Regions from separate parts of the Homo sapiens genome. Here region 1 is linked to region 2. The links are contacts of gene promoters, found by promoter capture Hi-C in human tissues and cell types (Jung and others, 2019). All regions are on one chromosome and are shown on one strand. The core of a region is centred on a gene start or on the middle of the fragment in contact, and the rest is flanking DNA. Distances in the headings are between cores, read along the strand shown. Region 1 has its middle 12 kb from the start of OR10H3. Region 2 holds the start of OR10H5 (olfactory receptor family 10 subfamily H member 5).

Region 1 (5,668 bases), core at 2,900-5,399, 39 kb after region 2:
CTCTCCTTTGCAGCAAAATGGATAGAAATGCACATAATTATGTAAAGTGAAATAAGCCAGGCACAGAAAAACAAGTATGACATGTTCTCACTCATGTGGGAACCAAAAAAGTTGATCTCAAGAGATAAAGAGTAGAATAATGGTTACCAGAGGCTTGGAAAGGTTGAAGTTGAATGAAGATCAGTTGGTTAATGATTGCAAAAATACAGTTAGATAGAAGAAATCAGTTCTGTGTTCAATAGTGCAGTAGGGTGACTATGGTTAACAATAACTTACTGTATATTTCAAAATAGATAGAAGACAATAATGAAATATTCCCAACATAAAGAAATAACAGATGTTTGAGGGGAAGGATATCCCATTACCCAGATTCAACCATTACACTTTGTATATTTATATCACCATATCACATGTAACCCACAGATACGTACAATTATTATGTATCAATAAAAAAGAGAAAAACGATATAAAAAATAGATACTGAGTTTTTCTACCCAGGAACATGGAATATGTCTACATTCAATTCTTTGATTTCTTTCATTAGAAATTTGCGATTTTCCACATATAAATCTTGTACATTTTTAAAATTTATATGTAAGCATTTTATGGGGATACTAATGTCAATAGTATTGCATTTTTAATTTCCAATTTCACGTTTACTGCTGCTATGTAGTGTTTGACTTTTATATACTAACATTGTATCCTTCAAACTTGCTATAATGTCTTATTAGTTCCAGGAGGGTTTTTGTTGGTTCTTTTAGATTTTTTACATAGACCATCATCCCATTTGCAAACAAAAACAGTTTTATCTCTTCCTGCCCAATCCAAGTATTTTTTATTTCTTTCTCTTGTCTTATTGCATTTAGTACTTCCAGTGCAATATTGAAAAGTAGTGACAAGAGGGGAAATTCTAGTCTGGTTTCTAACCTTAGTGGGAAAGCTTGTCGTTTCTTTCCATTAAGTATGATGCTATCTGTAGGTTTTTGAAGATATTCTTTACTAAGTTGAAGGCATTCTCTCCACTTCCACCTTACTGATAATTTTTAATTATGAATGGGTGTGGGATTTCGTCACATGCTTTTTTGCATCTATTGATATAATCATGTGATTTTTCTTCTTTAGCTTGCTAATGTGATGGTTTACATTATTTGATTTTCAAATATTGAACCAGCCTTGCATACCTGCAATGAATCCCATTTGGTTATAATGTATAATTATTTTTATATATTGTTGGATTCAATTTGCTAATATTTTGCTGGGAATTTTGCATGTATGTCCAAGGTAGATTTTAATCTGTATAGTTTTACCTCTCCCTTTCTTCCTAATTTTTTTCTTTTATTTTCTTCTTCTCTTTTCTTTTTTTTTTTTTTTTTTTTGCTGGTAATGTCTTTGTCTAGGTTTGCTATTAGGGTAATGATGGTCTCATAAAATGAGTTAGGAAATATTTCCCCTGCTTCTGTCTTTTAAAAGATAAAGCAGAAAATTGGTAAGAATTTCTTCCTTAAATATTTGGTAGAAATCATCAGTGAACCAGTCTGGGTCTGAGGCTTTCTGTTTTTAAATGATATTAATTATTAATTCAATTGCTCTAATCGATACAGGCCTATTCAGATTGATCGCACTTTCCTTTCATTCTTTTCTTTCCCCTTCTCATAGTTTTGGGTAGATCAAAGGTGAATGAATGATAGTATATAACTATGATTAAACATTATGTACCTGATACAAACTAACACAGGAACAGAAAACCAAACACCGCATGTTCTCACTCATAAGTGGGAGTTGAACAATGAGAACACATGGATACAGGGAGGGGAACATCACACACGAGGGCCTGCCGGGGGGTGGTGGGGAAGGGGAAGGAGAGCATTAGGATAAATACCTAATGCATGCAGGGCTTAAAACCTAGATGATGGATTGATAGGTGCAGCAAATCACCATGGCACATGTATACCTATGTAACAAACCTGCACATCCTGCACATGTATCCCAGAACTTAAAATAAAAAAATTTAAAAAATTATGTAGCTGATACAATTAAAAACTTCATGGAGAAACATAAGATCTATATGTGCTATTTTGTATACTTACATGATAAGTACGTAAAATATTTATGCAATAAGTATAGTATTGAATGACATTATAAAAATGTAGTTAGGTAAATATCACAGATATTTTAAAGAGATTATTTTAAGGTTAGTCAGGCAGAGTGGTATACAGGCAAGAAAACTAATTTTAAACTCATTGAAAATATATGTCAAATGCCAGCCAAACCACTTACTACCTTCAGAATCTTGAGAACAGATTTTAAAGCTCTGGTAGCCCTAGTGCTATAATAATTACACAAGGAATTGCAATTACAATATTTGGAAGTAGAATCTACCCAATAATCATGATCCTCGCCTCTCTTTGTGCTGAGTTCAATGTTTAATTTAAAAATTCAAATGAAAGTAGATAAAAGTGTTGGGGAACTCCTTTGCACTGGACCTTGCCCAGTAGTCCTGGAGGAGAAGATTCTCGAGCACAACTGCCTAAACAGGAACCACCACAGCTCCATCTAGAAGGAAGCTGCTGAAGCTTTGCATGCTGTTGTGCTGACCAGAAATCTAGCATAAGGTAAATGTAAGCAGACCAGGGAGTGCTCATGACCTTGGACGGAAAATCATGTTTGGAGAGGAAGCTTGTTGCTCATCCCCTTCTATGCTCAGCTGCCTGGGTTTTCTTCCCTACCATTTTATTTAACAAGAAGCTATCTAGAGAACTTGCTCCCCGTGCTGAGCCAGGAGGAGAAACTTGTAAGCTTTGAAGGGGGCAGTTTCCTTTCAAGGACTGGAGAATATGTGTGCAAAGCTGGGGCAGGTCAGGGCAGAGTGTCCTGCAGACTGGTCTGAGGGCATCTATGGGGCTAAAAGTCTCCACACAAGTTCCTCGTTCTATGGTCCAAACCTTCACCTAGATTGTGGCAGTAGGTGAGACAAGAGTAGGGCAATGTAGACCTCTGATTCACCCTGATAGGCTGTAGTGTAGGTTTAAGGCTCTTTCCTTTGACCCAATTAGCCTCCACTCCCAATATTTCTCTGTGCAGAAGGCTCAGCTACATGTGTCAGGCGTTATAAATCCTTAAAATAAATCATAGTTTAACCCAGAATACAGAGTCCAGGCAGGAGGAGGAGAGGAGAGGTGGGAGTAATAATTTCTTCTCCCTTATCGGAAGGGGATGCAGTATCAGAAAATTCATGCTCAATGGGCCAAAGAGTAAATCAGAAAACTCTAGGGGTAAGGGTATGTTCATAGTGGGGGTGAAGGGGAATTCATTACCTCCAATTAAATTTTCAAAAAATTTTTGTACAGATGAGATCTTGCTATATTGCAAAGGCTAGTCTTGAACTCCTGGTCTCAAATGATCCTCCCTCCTTGGACTCCTGAAATGCTAGGACTAGAGGCATGAGCTACCACACCCAGCCCATCTGTCTTGATTTGTGATCTCATGACAATTCCCTGACTTCTCTCCAGAAAGAGATAAGTCCAAGTTCTCTTGTTAGCATCTCTGTCTTCTCCTTCCACTCTTAAATTCTACTGCGAACGTGTGAAATGACGCTGTCATGAAACAACGTGCTAATATAGCTTGTATGACTTTCTATAAGAAAATAATAATCTAGACTATCTCAAAAACAAATGTCAAAAATTGAAGGAGAATGAGGATTATAGAATAAAAGTCCCTAAAAGACATAACTGAATTAACATGTAGTTCTTGTTTGCATTCTGATTAGAAAAATGCTCTTTAAGTAATCCCGATATTAGAGCATTTATTGGATGTCAGGACAAACTAAGGCACTTGTTCTTTTTAGTAAGTTATAAACAAAACTTAAGTTGATATGGTAGTTATATAAAAAATGAACTTATATTTGACTTCCAGTTTCTGATCTGGCATGTAAGAAGCTGAAAGTTGCTGCTGGATCCCGACAATAAGTAAAAAGCTGAATAAACTGAAAACTCAGCAGTCTTGATTGGTAAAAGATGTCACAGGGCAAACTGCAGCTCCCCAAATTGGAAAGACCAACAGGCAAGTAGAGGGAATCACAACTTATTGTAAAAGAAATCCATCCATTGCAACCTCTGGAGGAACCAATATCAGAGAAGGGAAATGTTTACTGTAATTGAAGAATTACTGAAGGCTTGGTATAGACAAATCTGAGAGGTCAAAACTCCTGGGGACCCAGTTATTGGAGGGGGTTCCCACACTTTTGTTGGTTTTACCTCTAAGAGGTCTGTCAAGTCCTCATTGTAAAAGCAGGAGAAAAGACCCCTCATACTTCTGTTAGGGGAGGAGGAACAATGACCCATTTTGAAATACGCCAGAGTATTCTGTTCTTCCTATGAAGATCTACCCTCAGGAGGAACAATTTTCCTCTTTTCAACTTTTATTTTAGATTCAGGAGGTGCATGTGCAGGCTTGTTACATGGGTAAATTGCATGTTGCTGACGTTTGGTGTACAAATGGTGCCATCACACAGGTAGTAAGCGTAGTAGCTGATAGGTAGTTTTTCCACCCACGCCCCTCTCCCTCCCTCCCCCACCGAATAGTTTCTAGTGTGTGTTGTTGCTATCTTTGTGTCCATGTGTAGTCAGTGCCTAACTCCCACTTACCAGTAAGATCATGTAGCATTTGGTTTTTCTGTTCCCGCATTAGTTTGCTTAGGACGATGGCCTCCAGCTGCCTCCATGTTGCTGCAAAGGACATGACTTCATTCTTTTCAACATATGCAAATCAGTACATGTGATTCAGCACATAAACGGAATTTTTTATGCATTTTTTATGGACAAACATTAATTTATGTAGCCTGTGTTTGGGTGTTATGTTCTAGGTGAGGTGTTTTACATGTATAAATTTATTTAATTCTCACCAGTATCATTGTATCTATCTTTTATATAAGAAAAGAAAGATGAGAACTTTTTTTCTTACTTTAAGTTCTGGGATACATGTGCTGAACGTGCACATTTGTTACATAGGTATACATGTGCCATGGTGGCTTGACACAGGGAGGGGAACATCACACACCAGGGCCTGTTGGTGGGTGGGGGAAAGGGTGAGGGAGAGCATAAGGACAAATACCTAATGCATGTGGGGCTTAAAACCTAGATGATGAGTTGATAAACAGAATTTAAAACAAAAACCACATCTCAATAGGCACAGAACGGGCTTTCAATAAAATTCAACATCCCTTCATGTCATAAACCCTCAACAAATTTGGCATTGAAGGAACATACTTCAAAATAGTAACCATCTACGACAAACCCACAGCCAACATCATACTGAATGGGCAAAAGCTAGAAGCATTCCCTTTAAGAAGTGGAACCACACAAGGATGCCCACTCTCACCACTGCTATTGAACATAGTACTAGAAGACCTAGCCAGAGCAATCAGGCAGGAGAGAACAATGAAAGACTCCAAATGAGGAGAAACAATTGAACCAGAACCTAACCTACTGGAGTTTTATTACAGTTTCACTGGAAAAAGAAAATACCCAACTCTTGCCAGCTCTAGTCATCCTGTTCCACCTAAGGGAGGTGGTGTCAGGGGATCCTGATTAGCACATCTGCTGATGGGGGCTGATATCTAAGCATAGGTCTATAGAATGATTCCCCTCCCCATACCTTACTGCCATATTGC
Region 2 (5,323 bases), core at 1,613-4,112:
GAGACAATTCTCTAAGACATATCCAGGCCGTGGAGTCACGCAGACCCATGGTTCAAATCCCAGGTTCTCACTGTATGCTGGGATAACCAGAGACCTGCCCTGGGGGTTCCCTGGGCGACGGGATGCCAAGTGCTTAGCACACAGTTCTCAAGGCTGCCAGCTGACGTTGTCGTGATCATCTCTGTCATCATTGCTGTTTGCTGTCTGCTGAGCTGGTTGCCACTCATCCTTGCCTGCCAGGTGACTCACATTGGCACTGTGACAGTCAGGGACTTCAACCCCATTCCAGATGAACCTTCTTCTGTCACTGTAAATGCCTCCTACCCTCCAGCACTCCCTCCCTTGTGCAGCTCACCTCTTCCTCTCTCCTGGCTACCAACAGGCTCCAAGGTCCCTGCTCCTAAATGCACAAATGTTACTAAAAATTACAGAAAGGGGCCATGCCCAGTGGCTCACACCTATAATCCCAGCACTTTTGGAGGCTGAGGCAGGAGGATCACTTGAGGCCAGGAGTTTGAGACCAGCCTGGGCAACATAGTGAGATCCCATCTTTACCAAAAAAATTGTTTTTAAATTAGCCAGGCGTGGTGATGTGCACCTGTAGTTCCAGCTACTCAGGAGGCTGAGGTGAGAGGATTGCTTGAGTACAGGAATTCGAGGCTGCAGTGAGCCATGTTCATGCCACTACATTCCAGCCTGGGTGACAGAGCGAGACCCTGTCTCAAAAAAAAAAAAAGAAAAGAAAAGAAAAAAAAGAAAAGAGAAATACAGAAAGGGCTCTCTCAGCTCTCTGGCACATTCTGTCCCACTCTTTCCCAGAACAGCACCTTAGCAGAAATCTCCAAGGGGGCTCTCCAACTCCCCTGCACAAGTCTAGACCTAGGGAAGGACAAAGGTCAGGGTCCTTCTCCCAGCTGAGGGCTCCCAGGCAGAACCCCAGACTGGTGCACACGCAGAACCTCAGGCTTCTGCACACACAGAACTCCAGAATGATGCACACGCAGAACCCTAGGCTGGTGCACACACAGAATCCCAGGCTGGTGCAAATGCAGAATCCCAGGCTGGCACACACGCAGGCTCCCAGACCCTGCTCCAGTGCCCTCTCTCCTCAAAGGAGACACAATTCAACTCATCCAGCTCTTTCTGCTTATGCACTTTATCATACAACTGAACACACAGATGCAAAGGCAGACAGATCTGAGCAATGCCACACAGTCGCACTGGCTCTGAAATGCACACTGGCGGTGACACCCCCAGCCAGAACCAGAGACACCACCACTCATTCTGCACACACCTATGGAGCCCTTGCCAAATGCCTGGTGCTCATCTGGGGCTGGAATAAACTGGAGACACACAGCCATTCCATGTGTGAGGGCACTGTGTGTGTTGAATCATGTCCCTCCAAAACTCATGTTCATTCAGAACCTCAGAATGTGACCTTTGGACACAGGGAGGGGAACAACACACACTGGGGCCTGTTGGGGTAGGGCAGGGGTGGGGAGAGCCTCAGAAAAATAGCTAATGTATGCCAGGCTTAATACCTAGGTGATAGGTTGATAGGTGCAGCAAAGCACCATGGCACACATTTGCCTGTGTGACAAACCTGCACATCCTGAGCATGTACCCTGAAACCAAACTAAACTAAACTAAAATAAAATAATGTGACCTTAGGTGGCAATAGAGTCTTTTACAGATGTCATTAAGGTAAGGATCCAAAAATGAGATCAGCTGGGTGTGGTGGCTCACACCTATAATCCCAGCACTGTGGGAGACCAAGGTGGGTGGGGCGGGGGATTGCTTGAATCCAGGAGTTCGAGACCAGCCTGAGCAACATGGCAAAACCCCATCTCTACAAAAATTAGCTGGGCGTGGTGCTGTGTGCCTGCGCTAACAGCTGCTTAGGAGGCCAAGTGGGAGGATCAGTTGAGCCTGGGAGGTCGAGGCTGCAGTGAGCTGTGATCGTGCCACTGCACTCCAGCCTGGGTGACAGAGCGAGACCCTGTCCAAAAAATAATAATAATAAAAATAAAAATGAGATTATTCTGAATTAGGTTGTTTACTAAATCCAACAACTGGTGCCCCTCAAAGACGAGGGGAGGACACACAGAGGAAAAGGTCGCGTGAAGAGAGAGGCAGAGATTGGAGCGATGCAGCTACAAATCAATCAATGCCTAGAGCACCCAGAAGCTGGAAGAGGCAAGGCATCTTCTCCCTTAGAATCTTCAGAGGGAGAGTAGCTTTGTAGACGTCTTGCTTTAAGACGTCTAGCCTCCAGAACCCTGCAAGAATGCATTTATCTTGTTTTAAGCCACAAGGTTTGCGGCACTTTGAAATGGCAGCTACAATAATCTCATACAAGCGCACACAACTGCACACACACACACACAGTGAAGGCAGGAGTACACATGGGTGATGCCTAAGTACACCCACATGCATGGTGACACACTCAATGTCACCCGCTTGGCTCAGAACCACCCTCCTCCACAACTTAGTATAGAGACCACTCCCCACCCCAGCATGGACCCTGGTGGCCACGACTGCTGTGGAAAGGGGGCTGCTCTAGGCAGTAGGTGGACTCTATGGGGGACTTGGAGTGAGGACAGGCTGATCCAGCCTGGAGTCAGGTGGCTGAGGCTATAGAACCCCTACTCCATATCATCCCATGCTCCCTCTCGTTTCTTTTCCCAAACCTGTGCCTCCCTCTGTTCCAATTTTCCCTGCTTCTCTTGCCTTCTCCCTTCCACCTCCCAGTACTCTTGCCACTTCATCCTGGAAAGCAGGTTTGGAAATAGACGACTCCACTTACCTTCATCAGAGACCTTTAGGGACGCCTTGCAGCCAGGCCTGTAATGGCCCTGGGCACAGTGCACCCAGGGTGAGAGCTTCATCTCTGCAGGCGTCTTCCCCAGTGGCACGTTCCCAGAGGTGTCTTGAGGAGCCTGCCTGGGATGCAGGATGCAGGGTAATCGAAGTCCAAGGAGGGAGGCGGGGGACCTTGGGATTGCCCTCTCCATTCCTGCCTCCCTCCTTCCTTTGCTGCTTCCCTCCCTCTTTTCTTCCTTCTCTTCCTTCCTTCCTCTCTTCTTCCCTTCTTCCATCTTTCCTCCCTTCCTCCTGCCTGGGACCCCTTCCACCACTACTCACTCTCACTTATCTCAGTCCTGTTCTCATTTGAGGTTTCAGTTTTTACATCACCTCCTCCCTAAAGATCTCACCATCAAACCCTGACACCACCATCAAACCCTGACACCACCACCACCACCACCCCCTGCGGCTAGCGAGGCTGGGCTGGGCTGCCCCAATTCCAAGCATTTTGGAAAAATGGGACTGGATTCTGGGTGATGTTTCCCAGGATGGTGTCTCTTCTCAACAGATATCAGGAAAGGGATCTGGAGAGACACAGAGGTGTGATTCTCAGAAGAAGCATCCTCTATGGTTGCCTCTGGGAACACAAAGCCCACAGAGGGCAGGGAACAAGGCCAAGGTCACACGGTAGGTTCCTGCAGCAAGCCCAGATGGAGTGGAGGGGCCAAGAGCTCCAGCTCTGCCTCTTCCTCCCCATAAACTTGACAGGGTGCATCATGACCCAGGTATCAACACCTTCAGAATCTCCCAGTTCCCCATAACTCCAGAAACAGTCCAACAAAGATTTCAGATACTGGAATTATCAGGCAAGGACTATGAAACAATATTGCTTACGAAGTTTAAATAACGAAATGTAATTTTGGAAATATCTTCAAGGATAAAGCATTGTAAAGAGCGGCAGGGTTGATTTGAAAAAAAAGATATATAATTTTTAGAACCAAAGCTACAATATTAATATCCCAGGAGAAGTTTAATGCATGTCAGACACAATTGAAGAGAGAATTAGTGAGTTGGGGGCCGGGCGCGGTGGCTCATGCCTGTAATCCCAGCACTCTGGGAGGCTGAGGCAGGTGGATCACTTGAGTTCAGGAGCTCAAGACCAGCCTGGCCAACATGGCGAAACCCCATCTCTACTCAAAATACAAAAATTAGTCAGATGTAGATTCTGGATATTAGCCCTTTGTCAGATGAGTAGATTGCAAAAATTTTCTCCCATTCTGTAGGTTGACTGTTCACTCTGATGGTAGTTTCTTTTGCTGTGCAGAAGCTCTTTAGTTTAATTATATCCCATTTGTCAATTTTGGCTTTTGTTGCCGTTGCTTTTGGTGTTTTAGACATGAAGTCCTTGCCCATGCCTATGTACTGAAAGGTATTGCCTAGGTTTTCTTCTAGGGTTTTTATGGTTTTAGGTCTAACATTTAAGTCTTTAGTCCATCTTGAATTAATTTTTGTGTAAGGTGTAAGGAAGGGATCCAGTTTCAGCTTTCTACATATGGCTAGCCAGTTTTCCCAGCACCATTTATTAAATAGGGAATCCTTTCCCCATTTCTTGTTTTTGTCATGTTGTCAAAGATCAGATAGAAGGACCTCTTCAAGGAGAACTACAAACCACTGCTCGATGAAATAAAAGAGGATACAAACAAATGGAAGAACATTCCATGCTCATGGGTAGGAAGAATCAATATTGTGAAAATGGCCATACTGCCCAAGGTAATTTATAGATTCAATGCCATCCCCATCAAGCTACCAATGACTTTCTTCACAGAATTGGAAAAAACTACTTTAAAGTTCATATGGAACCAAAAAAGAGCCCACATTGCCAAGTCAATCCTAAGCCAAAAGAACAAAGCTCAGAATCTACAATGAACTCCAACATATTTACAAGAAAAAACAAACAACCCCATCAAAAAGTGGGTGAAGGATATGAACAGACACTTCTCAAAAGAAGACATTTATGCAGCCAAAAGACACATGAAAAAATGCTCGTCATCACTGGCCATCAGAGAAATGCAAATCAAAACCACAATGAGATACCATCTCACACCAGTTAGAATGGCGATTATTAAAAAGTCAGGAAACAACAGGTGCTAGAGAGGATGTGGAGAAATAGGAACACTTTTACACTGTTGGTGGGACTGTAAACTAGTTCAACCATTGTGGAAGCCAGTGTGGCAATTCCTCAGGGATCTAGAACTAGAAATATCATTTGACCCAACAATCCCATTACTGGGTATATACCCAGAGGATTATAAAACATGCTGCTATGAAGACACATGCACACGTATGTTTATTGCGGCACTATTCACAATAGCAAAGACTTGGAACCAACCCAAATGTCCAACAATGATAGACTGGATTAAGAAAATGTGGCACATATACACCATGGAATACTATGCAGCCATAAAAAATGACGAGTTCATGTCCTTTGTAGGGACATGGATGAAGCTGGAAACCATCA

Evidence for each region. The method cuts DNA at HindIII sites, captures the fragments that hold promoters and counts their contacts. A contact is called where the count stands out against the background at its distance.
Region 1: a fragment that was not itself captured here is called in contact with the fragment with the promoter of OR10H5 in region 2 in 3 of the 25 tissues and cell types used here (adrenal gland, heart left ventricle and liver).

What each region holds. Positions count from the first base shown.
Region 1 is chr19:15,746,728-15,752,395 of GRCh38, reverse strand. No RefSeq gene overlaps it. Among named protein-coding and RNA genes, the nearest start is that of OR10H3, 12 kb to the right of the region's middle. The HindIII fragment of the contact is 3,047 bases long and covers 2,626-5,668 here.
Region 2 is chr19:15,785,200-15,790,522 of GRCh38, reverse strand. OR10H5 (olfactory receptor family 10 subfamily H member 5) reads right to left here and starts at 2,862. Exons shown (of 2, transcript NM_001004466.2): 1 at 2,807-2,862. The HindIII fragment of the contact is 26,370 bases long and covers 1-5,323 here.